Regions from separate parts of the Homo sapiens genome. Here region 2 is linked to region 1. Evidence: promoter capture Hi-C in 16 types of primary human blood cells and fetal thymus (Javierre and others, 2016). All regions are on one chromosome and are shown on one strand. Each heading gives the region's core, a stretch centred on a gene start or on the middle of the fragment in contact. The rest is flanking DNA. Distances are from core to core; before and after follow the strand shown. Region 1 holds the start of ZNF562 (zinc finger protein 562). Region 2 overlaps ZNF266 (zinc finger protein 266).

Evidence for each region. Contacts are between HindIII fragments. The CHiCAGO score rates a contact against its expected background, and 5 or more counts as called.
Region 2: a fragment that was not itself captured here is called in contact with the fragment with the promoter of ZNF562 in region 1 in 1 of 17 cell types (erythroblasts); the score reaches 5.8 in erythroblasts.

What each region holds. Positions count from the first base shown.
Region 1 is chr19:9,673,037-9,679,784 of GRCh38, forward strand. ZNF562 (zinc finger protein 562) reads right to left here and starts at 2,064. Exons shown (of 6, transcript NM_001130031.2): 1 at 1,979-2,064. RefSeq lists enhancers at 1,033-2,232, 1,771-2,270, 1,949-2,008, 2,271-3,270. The HindIII fragment of the contact is 670 bases long and covers 1,720-2,389 here.
Region 2 is chr19:9,408,670-9,415,597 of GRCh38, forward strand. It overlaps ZNF266 (zinc finger protein 266), which reads right to left. Exons shown (of 11, transcript NM_001370374.1): 11 at 3,760-6,051. The coding sequence ends at 4,606. Among named protein-coding and RNA genes, the nearest start is that of ZNF266, 23 kb to the right of the region's middle. The HindIII fragment of the contact is 978 bases long and covers 3,862-4,839 here.

The sequences.
Region 1 (6,748 bases), core at 814-3,313:
CAACCTTCCCATCAGCTCTAATCAATAACTCACATCTGTTCCCTTGGCTACTCATTCTGCAGCTATTCCACTCTTTGAAACTGCACATCCCACCATCATGACTCACACATCCCCCTACCCTTCCTTATTTGGGGAAAATATTCACAGATAGCCAATAGGGTCAGTTTAGATTCTGCGGTCTGACCCTAACCCACGGGGGAGAGACACAGAAGTAGGGACCCAGCGTTAGAAATAAAAACCCCTTCCCCTCCCTTATCTGGTGTACTCTCGCCATCACTCCATCCACGAGACTCACCCTTCTATAGAAATAAATTGCGTTGCTGAGAAAACTTTTGCCTGAGTGCTGGTTTCACTTTGCAGCACCCAGCGTTTTATTTTTTTATCTCCAACAGCTGGGATTACAGGGGCCCACCACCAAGCCCGGCTAATTTTTGTATTTTTAGTAGAGACAGGGTTTTACCATGTTGGCTAGGCTAGTCTGGATCTCCTGACCTCAGGTGATCCGCCTGCCTCTGCCTCCCAAAGTGCTGTGATTACAGGTGTGAGCCAGTGCATCTGGCCTGGCTTTAAGTAGAAAGGCTTGCAGCTGGTAACAATTAGAAAAAAAATAACCTGCAAGAAAATAAAAATTAAAAACTAAAGGCTTAGTCTACACGCGTTCATATTTACATACAAAAACGGGCACACCCTAAACAACTATGTTTTTTCCATCTGAATGTAATGTGTCAAAAATAAGTGGCGGGTGGATCACTTGAGGTCAGGAGTTCGAGACCAGCCTGGCCAACATGGTGAAACCCCATCTCTACCAAAAATATAAAAAATTAGCCAGGTGTGGTGGTGCACGCCTGGAATCCCAGCTACTCGGGAGGCTGAGGCAGGTGAATCATGTTATAAAGTTTTCATGCCACAAAAAAAAAGCACTCAAATATAACATTTTCTTTTCTCAGCAAGGCAATTTACTTCTACAGAAGGGTGTGCCCTCACAGATGGAGCAATGGTGAGCACACACCAGGACAAGGGAGGGGAAGGGGTTCTTATTCTTGAGGAAAGTGGCCCCTGCCGCTTTGTCCTTCCCCGATGGCTAGGGTTAGACCCCACAGGCTAAACTAATTCCAATTGGCTAATTTAAAGAGAGTGACAGGGTGAGTGGTTTGTTGGGGAAAATGGTTATAACAGAGCAGGAAATTGGAATGAGTCAGGGTGGAAAATGAGTCAGGGTGGAGTAAGTAATCGAAATAAGTCTGGGTGGAGCAGGTAATCAGAATGAGTCAGGGTGGAGCAGGTGATCGAAAAAGGTTGCTTTACGGAGAAGTTTAAAAGTAGAAGGCAAAGAATTAAACATACTGACATATTGATTTTTTAAAAAGAAATTTAAAACTCATATCTAACAATCACTTGAACCCGGGAGGTGAAAGTTGCAGTGAGCCAACATCGTGCCACTGCACTCCAGCGTGGGCGACAGAGTAAGACTCCAAATCAAAAAAAAAAAAAAAGTAAAGGACATCAAGACAACGCCAGATTCTCAGATGAGACATTTTTTAGCAAATAAATGGAAGTCACAGCCCTCTTGAAACCATTTTTCCGCCGTTGCTCACCAGGAACATGCCGGAAGAGATAGGTTCCAGACGCGGGAGAATGCGGGGCCAGAGCCAACCTCACCAGAAGGGCAGAAATCCTTTTCCTTTCGGAAAGAAAAAAACTCCCAAAGGTTGCTTTCCAAGCTTTTCAAGAGAGGAGCACAGCGGATGAAAGTACTCAAGAAAACACCCGGCGGAGGCGGAACAAACACACTTCCCGACGCAGCCAGACGGACTGTGCGGCCTCTCGGAACTGGCCAGAGGCCGCACCAGGAGGACTGACAGCCCCTAGAAAAGCGAGTGAAACTAGGCGGATCTGAGAGGCTCCTGGGCGACCACGCCCAATCCTTCCTTTGCCGCCCCGCTGGTATGTCCCGGACCCCCAAGCAGGTAGAACTCACCACAGCGGGGTGGACTCCACCACAATAAAGGTTAAACGGCACTGACCATGCTGAGCCACAGCCGGTAAAGATGGCGGTGGCACACTGACGTCACTTCCGCTCCGAGCCTCCGGCCGGGTGGGGCTCCAGGGCTTGAGTTTCAGGCACGTAGGACAAAGAAATTCTAGTTTCCTCCTGGGTGGGTGCCGGACAGTGCCTGGGGTTGGCTCAGGGAGCGGGATGCAGAAACGGGTTCAGAGAAAAAGATGAGTTTAGAACCGGACCTCTGGACGGAACCGTGGGCGAGGGGTGGGGCCCATATTTGGGGGCGGTTTAGAGGTGGGACCCGGCCTAGCCCGCGTTTCAGGTGCCCAGACGGGTTGGAAAGGCGGGGATGGGGGATGGGACGCACCCCAGAGGATGCTCCTCCAAAGCTTATCCTGGGCGGGCTCAGTGGCTCACGCCTGTAATTCCAGCACTTTGGGAGGCTAAGGCAGGTGGATAGCTTGAGTCCAAGAGTTCCAGACCAGCCTGAGTGAAATAGCAAGACCGTGTGTCTTTTTTTTTCTTTTCTTTTTTTTTTTTTTTTTTTTTTTGAGACAGAGTTTCACTCTTGTTGCCCAGGCCTGTGCCCGGCTCGACCCTGTCTCTATTAAAATATATATATAAGGCCAAGCGCCAGTGGTTCACGCCTGTAATCCCTGCACTTTGGGAAGCCAAGGCGGGCGGATCACCTGAGGTCGGGAGTTTGACACCAGCCTGGCCAACATGCTGAAACCCCGTCTCTACTAAAAATACAAAAAAATAGCTGGGTGTGGTGGCAGGCGCTTGTAATCCCAGCTACTCAGGAGGCTGAGGCAGGAGAATCGCTTGAACCCGGGAGGCGGAGGTTGCGGTGAGCCGAGGTTGCGCCACTGCACTCCAATCTGGGGGACAAGAGCGTGACTTCATCTCAAAAAGAAAAAATATATATATATGTGTGTGTGTGTGTGTGTGTGTGTGTGTGTGTGTGTGTGTCAAGCTTTTTTGTATGCCGCTCCTCATGTTCCTGGAGCCTTTCCATGATTCTTCCATATTAAACCTGCCAGTGATAGATGGCATGGTCTGTCTCTTCCATTCAGTCATTCTTTCTGTAGGCCTTTATTTTTTCTTTTTCTTTTTCTTTTTTTTTTTTTTTTGAGACGGAGTCTCTCTCTGTCCCCCAGGCTGGAGTGCAGTGGTGCAATCTCGGCTCACTGCAAGCTCCGCCTCCTGGGTTCACACCATTCTCCTGCCTAGCCTCCTAAGTAGCTGGGACTACAGGCGCCCGCGACCACAACCAGCTAATTTTTTTGTATTCTTAGTAGAGACGGGGTTTCACGGTGTTAGCCAAGATGATCCCCATCTCCTGACCTCATGATCCACCCGCCTCGGCCTCCCAAAGTGCTGGGATTACAGGCGTGAGCCACCGCGCCCAGCCTATTTTTTCATTCTTTATTTTATAGAACCTGCTGTTTCCATTGCGTTTTCTTTTTACTTTTTTTTTTTTTTTTTTTTTTTTTTGAGACTGGAGTCTCACTCTGTTGCCCGGGCTGGAGTGCAGTGGTGCAATCTCAGCTCACTGCAACCTCCGTCTCCTGGGTGCAAGTGATTCTCCTGCTTCAGCCTCCTGAGTAGCTGGGATTACAGGTGGCTGCCACTATGCCCAGCTATTTTTTCTATTTTCAGTACAGAGGGCATTTCACCATGTTGGCCAGGCTGGTCTCAAACTCCTGACCTCGTGATTTGCCCATCTCAGCCTTGCAGAATGCTGGGATTATAGGTGAAGGGGGCCAGCCCCTCCACACCTGTGGGTATTTCTCATCAGGTGGGATGAGAGACTGAGAAAAGAAATAAGACACAGAGACAAAGTATAGAGAAAGAACAGTGGGCCCAGGGGACCGGCGCTCAGCGTCCAGAGGACCCACACTGGCACCAGTCTCTGAGTTCCTTCAGTATTTATTGATTACTATTTTCACTATCTCAGCAAGGGGAATGCAGCAGGAGAACAGGGTGATAGTGGGGAGAAGGTCAGCAAGAAAACATATGAGCAAAGAATCTGTGTCACAGATAAGTTCAAGGGAAGGTACTATGCCTGGATGTGCACGTAGGCCAGATTTATGCTTCTCTCCACCCAAACATCTCAGTGTAGTAAAGAATAGCAGAGCAGCATTGCCACCAGCATGTCTCACCTCCAGCCACAGGGCAGTGTTCTCCTGTCTCAGAAGAGAACAATGTACATTCGGGATTTATACCAAGACATTCCGTTCCCAGGGGCATTCAGGAGACAGAGGCCTTCCTCTTTTACTAATGCTCCTCAGCACAGACCCTTCATGGGTGTCAGGCTGGGGGACGGTCAGGTCTTTCCCATCCCATGAGGCCATATCTCAGGCTGTCTCAGTGGGGAGAAACTTTGGACAATACCCAGCTTTCCTGGGCAGAGGTCCCTGCTGCTTTCTGCAGTGCATCGTGCCCCTGGTTAATTGAGAATGGAGAATGGTGATGACTTTCATCCAGCATACTGCCTGTAAACATATTGTTAAGAAGGCACATCCTGCACAGCCCTAGATCCCTTAAACCTTGATTCCATACAACACGTTTTGTGAGCACAAGGTTGGGGCTAAAGTTACAGATTAACAGCGTCTCAAGGCAAAACAATTGTTTAGGGTACAGATCAAAATGGAGTTTCTTATGTCTTCCTTTTCTACATAGACAAAGTAACAGTCTGATCTCTTTCTTTTCCCTACAATAGGCATGAGCAACCACGCACAGCCACATTTTCAATATAATAATACTTTCTATAAATCTTGATTTTTTTTTTCTTCACCAAGTATGTATTTCTGGCTGGGCACGTTGCCTCATGCCTGTAATCTCAGCACACTTTGAGAGGCCAATATGGGAGGATCGTTTGAGGCCAGGAGTTGGAGACAAGCCTGGGCAACACAGCAAGACCCTGTCTCCTTAAAAAACAATAAAATTTTTAAAAAATTCCTTTTTTCTTTTATTTTTTGCGATGGAGTCTCGCTCTGTTGCCCAGGCTGGAGTGCATTGGCACAATCTTGGCTCACTGCAACCTCTGCTCCCTGGTTCAAGCGATTCTTCTGTCTCAGCCTCCCAAGTACCTGGGACTACAGGCCTGCGCCACCATGTCCAGCTAATTTTTGTATTTTTAGTAGAGACGTTTCACCATATTGGCTTGGCTGGTCTTGAACTCCTGACCTCATGATCCACCCACTTTGGCCTTCCAACGTGCTGGGATTACAGGTGTGAGCCACTAAGCCTGACCAAAAATATGTATTTCTATTGTTATTTTTCTGATCTTACCACATGGGCCAGGACCGCATTTCCTATGTTGTAAAATAGCAGTAATACCAGACATTCTCCCCAAGTTTATTCAGAAATGTAACATAATCCCAATAAAAACACCAAAATTTTTTCTGGAGTTAGGTACATTGATGCTAAAAGTTTATATGGAAAAAGAAAATCTGATAATAAGCAAGAAAACAAAAACAAGGCCGGGCACTGTGGCTCATGCCTGTTATCCCAGCACTTTGGGAGGCTGAGACAGGCAGATCACAAGGTCAGGAGATCAAGACCATCCTGGCCAACATGGTGAAACCGTGTCTCTACTAAAAATGCAAAAATTAGCTGGGCATGGTGGCACGTGCTTGTAGTCCCAACTACTTGGGAGGCTGAGGCAGGAGAATTGCTTGAACACGGGAGGCGGAGGTTGCAGTGAGCTGAGATCGCACCATTGCACCCCAGCCTGGGACAGAGGGAGACTGTGTCAAAAAAAAAAAAAGGAAAACAAAAACAAAAGCAATGATGAGCAGCAGATATTAAAACATACTATTGACAATTTTCACGCAAGACAAAGAATTATTTTAAAATAAAAATAAGAAAACATTCTATAAAGCCTCTATAATTAAAACTATGTGGTACTAGTGCATGAAGCAGAAACAGACTAATAAAATATCTATAAATAGACCCAAGAACATGTAGAAATTTGGTTCATAAATGTGGTATTTTGCTGGGCGTGGTGGCTCATGCCTGTAATCCTAGCACTTTGGTAGGTCAAGGCAGGAGGATCACTTGAGTTCAGGAGTTGGAAACCAGCCTGGCCAACATGGTGAAACTCCGTCTCTACTAAAAATACAAAAAATAGGCTCGGCTGGTGGCTCACGCCTGTAATCCCAGTACTTTGAGAGGCCGAGGTGGGTGAATCACCTGAGGTCGGGAGTTCAAGACCAGCCTAACCAACATGGAGAAACCCCCATCTCTACTAAAAATACAAAAATAGCTGGGTGTCCTCCCTCTCCCTCTCCCTCTCCCCACGGTCTCCCTCTCCCGCTCTTTCCATGGTCTCCCTCTGATGCCGAGCCGAAGCTGGACTGTACTGCTGCTATCTCGGCTCACTGCAACCTCCCTGCCTGATTCTCCTGCCTCAGCCTGCCGAGTGCCTGTGATTGCAGGCGCGCGCCGCCACGCCTGACTGGTTTTCATATTTTTTTGGTGGAGACGGGGTTTCGCTGTGTTGGCCAGGCTGGTCTCCAGCTCCTAACCGTGAGTGATCCGCCAGCCTCGGCCTCCCGAGGTGCCGGGATTGCAGACGGAGCCTCGTTCACTCAGTGCTCAATGGTGCCCAGGCTGGAGTGCAGTGGCGTGATCTCAGCTCGCTACAACCTCCACCTCCCAGCAGCCTGCCTTGGCCTCCCAAAGTGCCGAGAGTGCAGCCTCTGCCCGGCCGCCACCCCGTCTGGGAAGTGAGGAGCG
Region 2 (6,928 bases), core at 3,101-5,600, 260 kb before region 1:
AAAAAATTAAAAAAAAGAGTGTGGCTATATTGGCTTTTGGCCTTTCTCAAGAGAGAAACCTCAAGACCGAGTTGGAAAATAAACATTAATACTAAAAAATGATACCAACGTATGATCCAGCAATTCCACTTCTGGGTATATTAATCAAAAAGTTGAAAGCAGGTACTGGAAGAGCTATTTGTACACCCATGTTCATGGCAGCTTTATTCACAATATTGAAAAGGTGAAAGCAAATCAAACTGTGGTATAGCCATACAATAGATTATCCAGCCTTAAAAAAGGAAATTCTGAGATGTGCAGAATTTGAACATGAACATGAACATGTTCCTTGAACATGTTCCTTGATCATGAACATGAACATGAACCTTGAACATGTTACGCTAAATGAAATAAACTAGTCACAAAAAGTCAAATACTGGGACTTCACTTTTATGAGGTACCTACAGTAGTGGGGTTAACACAGACACATGTTGGAACAACTAAGTTCCTCTTCAAAGACTCAACTTTCTGATCATAAGTTATAAAAGTTGTACATCAATCCTACCCCCTTTCTTCTCTTCTGTTTCCACAAATCGCACATTTACCCTATTTGGAAAAGTTTAAGTCTTAGCCAATCGGGATCAGCTTAGATTGTGCAGTCCAATCCCAGCCAATTGGGGGACGACACAGAAACAGGAACTGCATTAAATTAAAAACTCCTTCCCTTCTTTGTTCATCGTGCTCTTGCGATCGTAACGGGCACAAGCAGCACCCTTCTGCAGAAGTAAAGGTGCCCTGCGGAGAAATTTTCTAGGGGGTTTCTTTTGGCTATGTCGAGCACTTGTTTCCAACAGAGAATTGAATGGTGTTTGCCAGAGATTGGGAAGGGAGCAGTAGGGAGTTAGTGTTTACTGGGTTCAGTTTGGGAAGATAAACATTTTTTAGTGGGATGATGGTGACAGTTGCCCAACAATGTGAGTATACTTAATGCCAGCGAAGTGGACACTTAAAATGGTTAAAATGTAAACTTTATGTAATATACTTTACCACAATTCTTAAAAAGTGAATAGAGGATTATTAGTTTTATTTAATGAAGCCTCCAAAAACCAGAGATCTGGGGCAAAAGAAATTCAAAAGCAGTTTGGCTAGCAGTGCATTTTATACAGTCTCTGCTAAATAAAATACCCACTGATAAGTAAAGGGTTTGGAATTGTATTGCTAACATTAGATTTATACATTAGAAACGTGTGTTTAAAACAGACATTCTCTATCAACTGGCAAATAAAAGATTTTTAAAGGATTAGGTTTTAAAATAAGTATTAAATTAGATGCTGCACCAAAGAATATATTGGTTTAAAAAATTGCTCAGTGCCGGGTGCAGTGGCTCATGCTTGTAATCCCAGCACTTTGGGAGGCCAAGAGGGGCAGATCATCTGAGGTCAGGAGTTCAAGACCAGTCTGGCCAACATGGCAAAACCCCATCTCTACTAAAAATACAAAAATTAGCTGGGCGTGGTGGCACGTGCCTGTAATCCCAGCTACTGAGGCGTCTGAGGCAGGAGAATCACTTGAACACGGGAGGCAGAGGTTGCAGTGAGCCAAGATCTCTCCACTGCACTCCAGCCTGGGCAACAAGAGCAAAATTCCATCTCAAGAAAAAAAAAAAAAAAAAAAAAAAAAAAAGCTCAGCTGCTGTGTCAGAGAATTAAACAATGAGTTAAAAACCTAACACTAAACAGTATTTTTAAATGTCCTCATCCTGTCCTCACCCAGATTCCAAGCATCAAGGAGTCACGCTCTTGAGGAAAGGTGCGCCTTGTCCAGGAGCTCCAGAAGCCACCTGTGCAGAAATTTCACCAGTCTCCAAGTCCTGCAGAGCAGTCACATGGCACTCCAGACCCACCCTGCAATCCACTGCCCCAAAAGTCACCATGGGGTGAACACAGCTCAACATTGGTGGAAGGTGTGGGTGCCTTAACGCATTCATTAACCAATAACTGTGGGCTTTGCTCTAGAGACAGAACTAAAGCCCCCACCCTCTTCTACTCTGTTAGTGGAGCCTGCGGTTTTTATGGGCACAGGATGAGGGCGGGGCAGGCCATGAGTGGTTTTGAAAAAGGCAACATTTGAACTGGAAAAGAAGGATGTGAAGTTATCACTTTGGGCCAATCTGAAAAGTTACGTACTGCACAATTCCAACTCTATGACATTCTGAAAAAGGCGAAACTATGGAGACAGTAAAAAGATGAGTGGTTGTCGGGCTGGGGAGAGGGAGGGAGGAATAGTGGGAGGACCGATGATCTGTGGACTTTGGGTGATAATGAAGTGGCAATGCAGGTTCATGAATTCTAACAAATGTATTACTCTGGTGGAGTATGTTGATGATGGTGGAAGCTATGCATATGTAGTGGCCGCAGGAATATAGGATGTCTTTGAACCTTCCACACTATTTTGCTGTGAACCTAAAACTGCTCTGAAACATGGATTTTTTGTTTTGAGACAGCGTCTGACTCTGTCACCCAGGCTAGAGTGCAGTGGCACAATCTCAGCTCACTGCAACCTCCTTCTGGGCTAAAATGATTCTCCTGCCTCAGCCTCCTGGGTAGCAGGGACTATAGGCATAAGCCACCATGCCCAGCTAAGTTTTGTCTTTTTTGTAGAGGCGGGGTTTCACCAGGTTACCCAGGCTGGTCTTGAACTCCTGAGCTCAAGCAATCCACTCACCTCAGCCTCTCAAAGTGCTGAGATTACAGCTCTGAGCCACTGCACCAGGTGAACACGGATATTTTAAAAGAGTAATAAAACATTTTCAATTGGTCAGAGTTTTCCAATCTGAGAAGTCAACATTATTTAGCTGAACTACCACTCTCCAAAACCTCTTACACTAATAGGATTTCTCTCTACTGCAAAACCTTACTTAAGCAATCCCTGAGATAACAGCAAAGGGCTTTCCATGTTTCACAGACTGTGTGGTCTCATTGCAAGTTACTTCCTGCTGGGTTGTGAAGAGATTCTGACAGCTTTCCCATATTTCTTACATTCACATGGCTATGAACTGTGATACAGTAAGATATGAGAAGCAAATGAAGTACTTCCTGCATCCTTTTTATAATCACAGGGTTTTACCCCAGTGTGAATTCTCACAAAGATATTAAGGCTTGAGCAATGAAATAAGGTGACACCATATCCCTGGGATACACAGGTTCTTCCTCCAATGTGAGATTTCATGTTAACATTATGGCATGTGAGATATTTAAAGGTTGCCATACATTCCCCTACATTCCCAGGACATTTGCAGTCTAATTTTATTTTATTTTTTTTGAGACAGAGTCTTGCTTTGTCACCCAGGATGGAGTGTAGGGGTCTTGGCTCACTTGCAGTCTAATTTTAGATATGTAAAATGAGCCTCGTGGAATTAGTAAAAGCTTTCCCACGTGCCTTACAGCAGAAGTGTTCTCTACACTGTGAATTTTTATTTCTCATGTAAGGTATAAACATTTAATGAAATCTCTCCACATTACTAATAATGGAGCCTCAGTCCACTCTAAGTCACTAAATGTTGGGTGAAGTCACATTTATGACTTTCATAGTAAAAGAAACTTTCTCTTCTTGATGGTCTTTGATTTTCACAGGGCCTATCACCACAAGAGTTGGAAGTGAGTATTAAGATCTGATGAGCACTTACAGACTTCTTCACATGTCCTACATTCATAGAACGTCTCTCCTGTGATTGCTTTTGTGTTTACACTAACACTAATGATAGCTAATGAACGGAAAAAATAATCACAAAAAAATTTTATTATGTTTGAAGAAAGCTTAAAAATTTGTGTTGGTCTGCATTCAAAGCCATCCTGGCCTGCGGGTTGGACAAGCTTGATCTAAAGCTTTTCCCAAGTTCCTCACAGTATTAGTTTCCTAGGGTTGCTGTACAAAATAACAGACTGAATGATTTAACCAAGAGAAATTTATTGCCTCACAGTTCTGGAGCCTGGAAGTGCAATATCAAGGTGGAGACAGGGTTGGTTTCCTCTGGAGGCCATAATGAAAGCATCTGTTCCAGGTCTCTGTCCTTGGCTTGTAGATGGCCATCTTCTGGTGGATCCACACAGTCTTCTCCATGTGTATCCTTCCTTCAGTTTCCCTTATAGGGACACCAGTGATGTCAGATTAGGGATCGAACCCAACAACCTCATTTGAAGTTACTCACCTGTTTGAAAACCCTATGTCCAAATACAGTTATAGTGTAAGGAACTAGGACTTAGGGCTTACAAATATGGAGTGGGGCATCATCCAGACCATACCATTTAAATTGCAGGGTTTCTCTCCAATGTGAGTTCACATACACACATTAAGGTTTGTGGGATTCAGAAAGGTATTCCCAGATTCTCTACATTCATACAGTTTCTCTCCAGTGAGATTTCTGATGTGTTTGGTAAGGCTTGAGAATTCAGCAAAGTCATTTCCACATTCCCTGATGCAGGGTCTTCTCCACTGTGAATTCATATGTGTTCATTAAGACCTGAGATACAAAGTTGCTTCCACATTTTTACATTCATAGGGTTTCTCCCCAGTGAGTTTTCATGTCTTCAGAGAGAACAGGGACACCTTTAGGTTTTCCCACATTCCTTATGCTGACAGTCTCTCATCCGCATGCCTTCTTTCATGATTTCGAAAGGAACTGGAAGAACTGAAGGCTTTCCCGCACTCCTTACATTCATAGGGTTTCTCTCCAGTGTGAGTTCGTTCATGTAACTGAAACGAATTGGAGTAACTGAAGGATTTCCCACACTGTTTACATTTGTAGGGTTTTTCTCCAGTGTGGATCCGCATGTGAAGGTTAACACACGTGGGAAACTTAAAAGCTTTGCCACATTCCATACACGTGAATGGTTTTTTGGCGCTGTGGGTCCGCATGTGATTATTAAGACTGGAGGAATGCGTAAATGCTTTACCACATTCCAGGCACTCAAAGGGCTTCTCTCCAGTGTGAATTCTCAAATGTCCACTAAGATTTGAAGAAATAGCAAAGGCTTTCCCACATTTGACACATTCAAAAGGCTTCTCTCCAGTGTGAGTTCTTGTATGTTCACTAAGGCGAGAGGATCTGGCAAAGGCCTTTCCACATTCCTTACATTCATAGGGCCTCTCTCCACTGTGAGTTCGTGCATGCTTAGTAAGGTCTGAGTTCTGAGTGAAGGCTTTCCCACAATCCTTACATTTATAGGGTTTTATTCCAGTGTGAATTCGAAAGTGATCACTGAGGCATGAGGAATTTCTAAAGGATTTTCCACATATCTTACATTCAAAGGGATCCTTTGCAGTGTGAGTTTTTAAATGTTCAGTAAGTTGAGAAGATCTAGTGAAGGCTATCCCACATTCCTTGCATTCATAAGGCTTCTCACCCACATGGATTTTCATATGTTGACTTAAGCAAGAGGAAACAGTGAAGGCTCTCCCACAATCCTTACATTTATAAGGTTTCTCTCCAGTGTGAGTTTTTCTGTGCTGAGTAAGTTGACAAGACCTGGTGAAGGCTTTCCCACACTCCTTACACTCATAGGGATTGTCTCCAGTGTGGGTTCCCATGTGAATATTAAGGTATGCAGAATATCTAAATCCTTTTCCACATTCCTTACATTTGTAGGGTTTTTCTGACCTGTGAGTTTGTATACGCACAGCAAGGTCTGTGGAGTGAATAAAGCCTCTCCCACATTCCTTCCATTCATGGAGACTTTCTCCATTGTGAGTTCTTAAATGTCCCTGAAGGTGTGAATGATTAATGAAGGATTTCCCAGAGTCACTGCAATCAAAAGCTTTCTCTCCTGTGCACGTTCTCTGGCAAACAACATCTGGGTTCAGGCTGAAGGCTTTTCCACACTGACTAAATACAGAACGTTGCTCTCCAGTAGAGGTTTTCTTGTGCAGAGTAAGGAAGTCTACTCCATACAGATAACACTCAAATGTGTTCTCACTATTTTGAGTTCTCACATGTGTCTTAAGGCATGAGTGTTCACTGGAGACATCTCCACATTGCTTAACATCACTGACCTCCCCTCCGTTGTGGCTTCCTATCTGTTGATAAAGGAATGAATGATGATTAAAGGACGGTTCAGATTGATTAACAGATTCCACTCATCTGAAGAGAGGAACACTGTGATGATTATTATCATGTTTACCATTTTCATTACACACATATAAGTAATGCCCTTTTGATTTCTTTCCAGCGGAATGACAAAAAACTCCTGCCAGGCTGTGCCATCTACTCTAATCTCAAATGTCTGTAGAGTTTTATGAAATTGTCTTAAAAACTCACTATCTAGTTACAAATGTGTACTTGAGGGGAACTCTAAAACACCTAAGTGTTGGCTGGGCGCAGTGGCTCACGCCTGTAATCCCAGTGCTTTGGGAGGCCAACGTGGGCAGATCACCTCAGGTCAAGAGTTCAAGACCAGTCTGGCCAACATGGTGAAACCCTGTCTCTACTAAAAGTACAAAAACTAGCCGGGCATGGTGGCACGTGCCTGTACTCCCAGCTACTCAGCAGGGTGAGGCACAAGAATCGCTTGAACCCAGGAGGTGGAGGTTGCAGTGAGCCAAGATCATGCCACTGCATTCCAGCCTGGGTGACAGACCAAGACTCTGTCTAAGAAAAAAACAACAATAAGTGTCAAGCTAGATTTCAAGCATCCCCAGGTCATCGTATTCTGAGTCTCTCTCCAGAGTCATTATCCCTTTTGGGAATGCTACTTATCTCAAAGAGCTCTCATTCTGCTAATTTTCTTTTTCTTTTAATGTAATTAAATTTAGTTTTTAGCGCCAAGATCTTGCTACGTTGACCAGGCTGGTCTAGAACTCCTGGCCTCAAGTGATCCTCCCACTTCAGCCTCCCAAAGTGCTGGGATTACAGGTGTGAGCCACCATTCCCAGCTTTATTCTGATTTTCTATAAT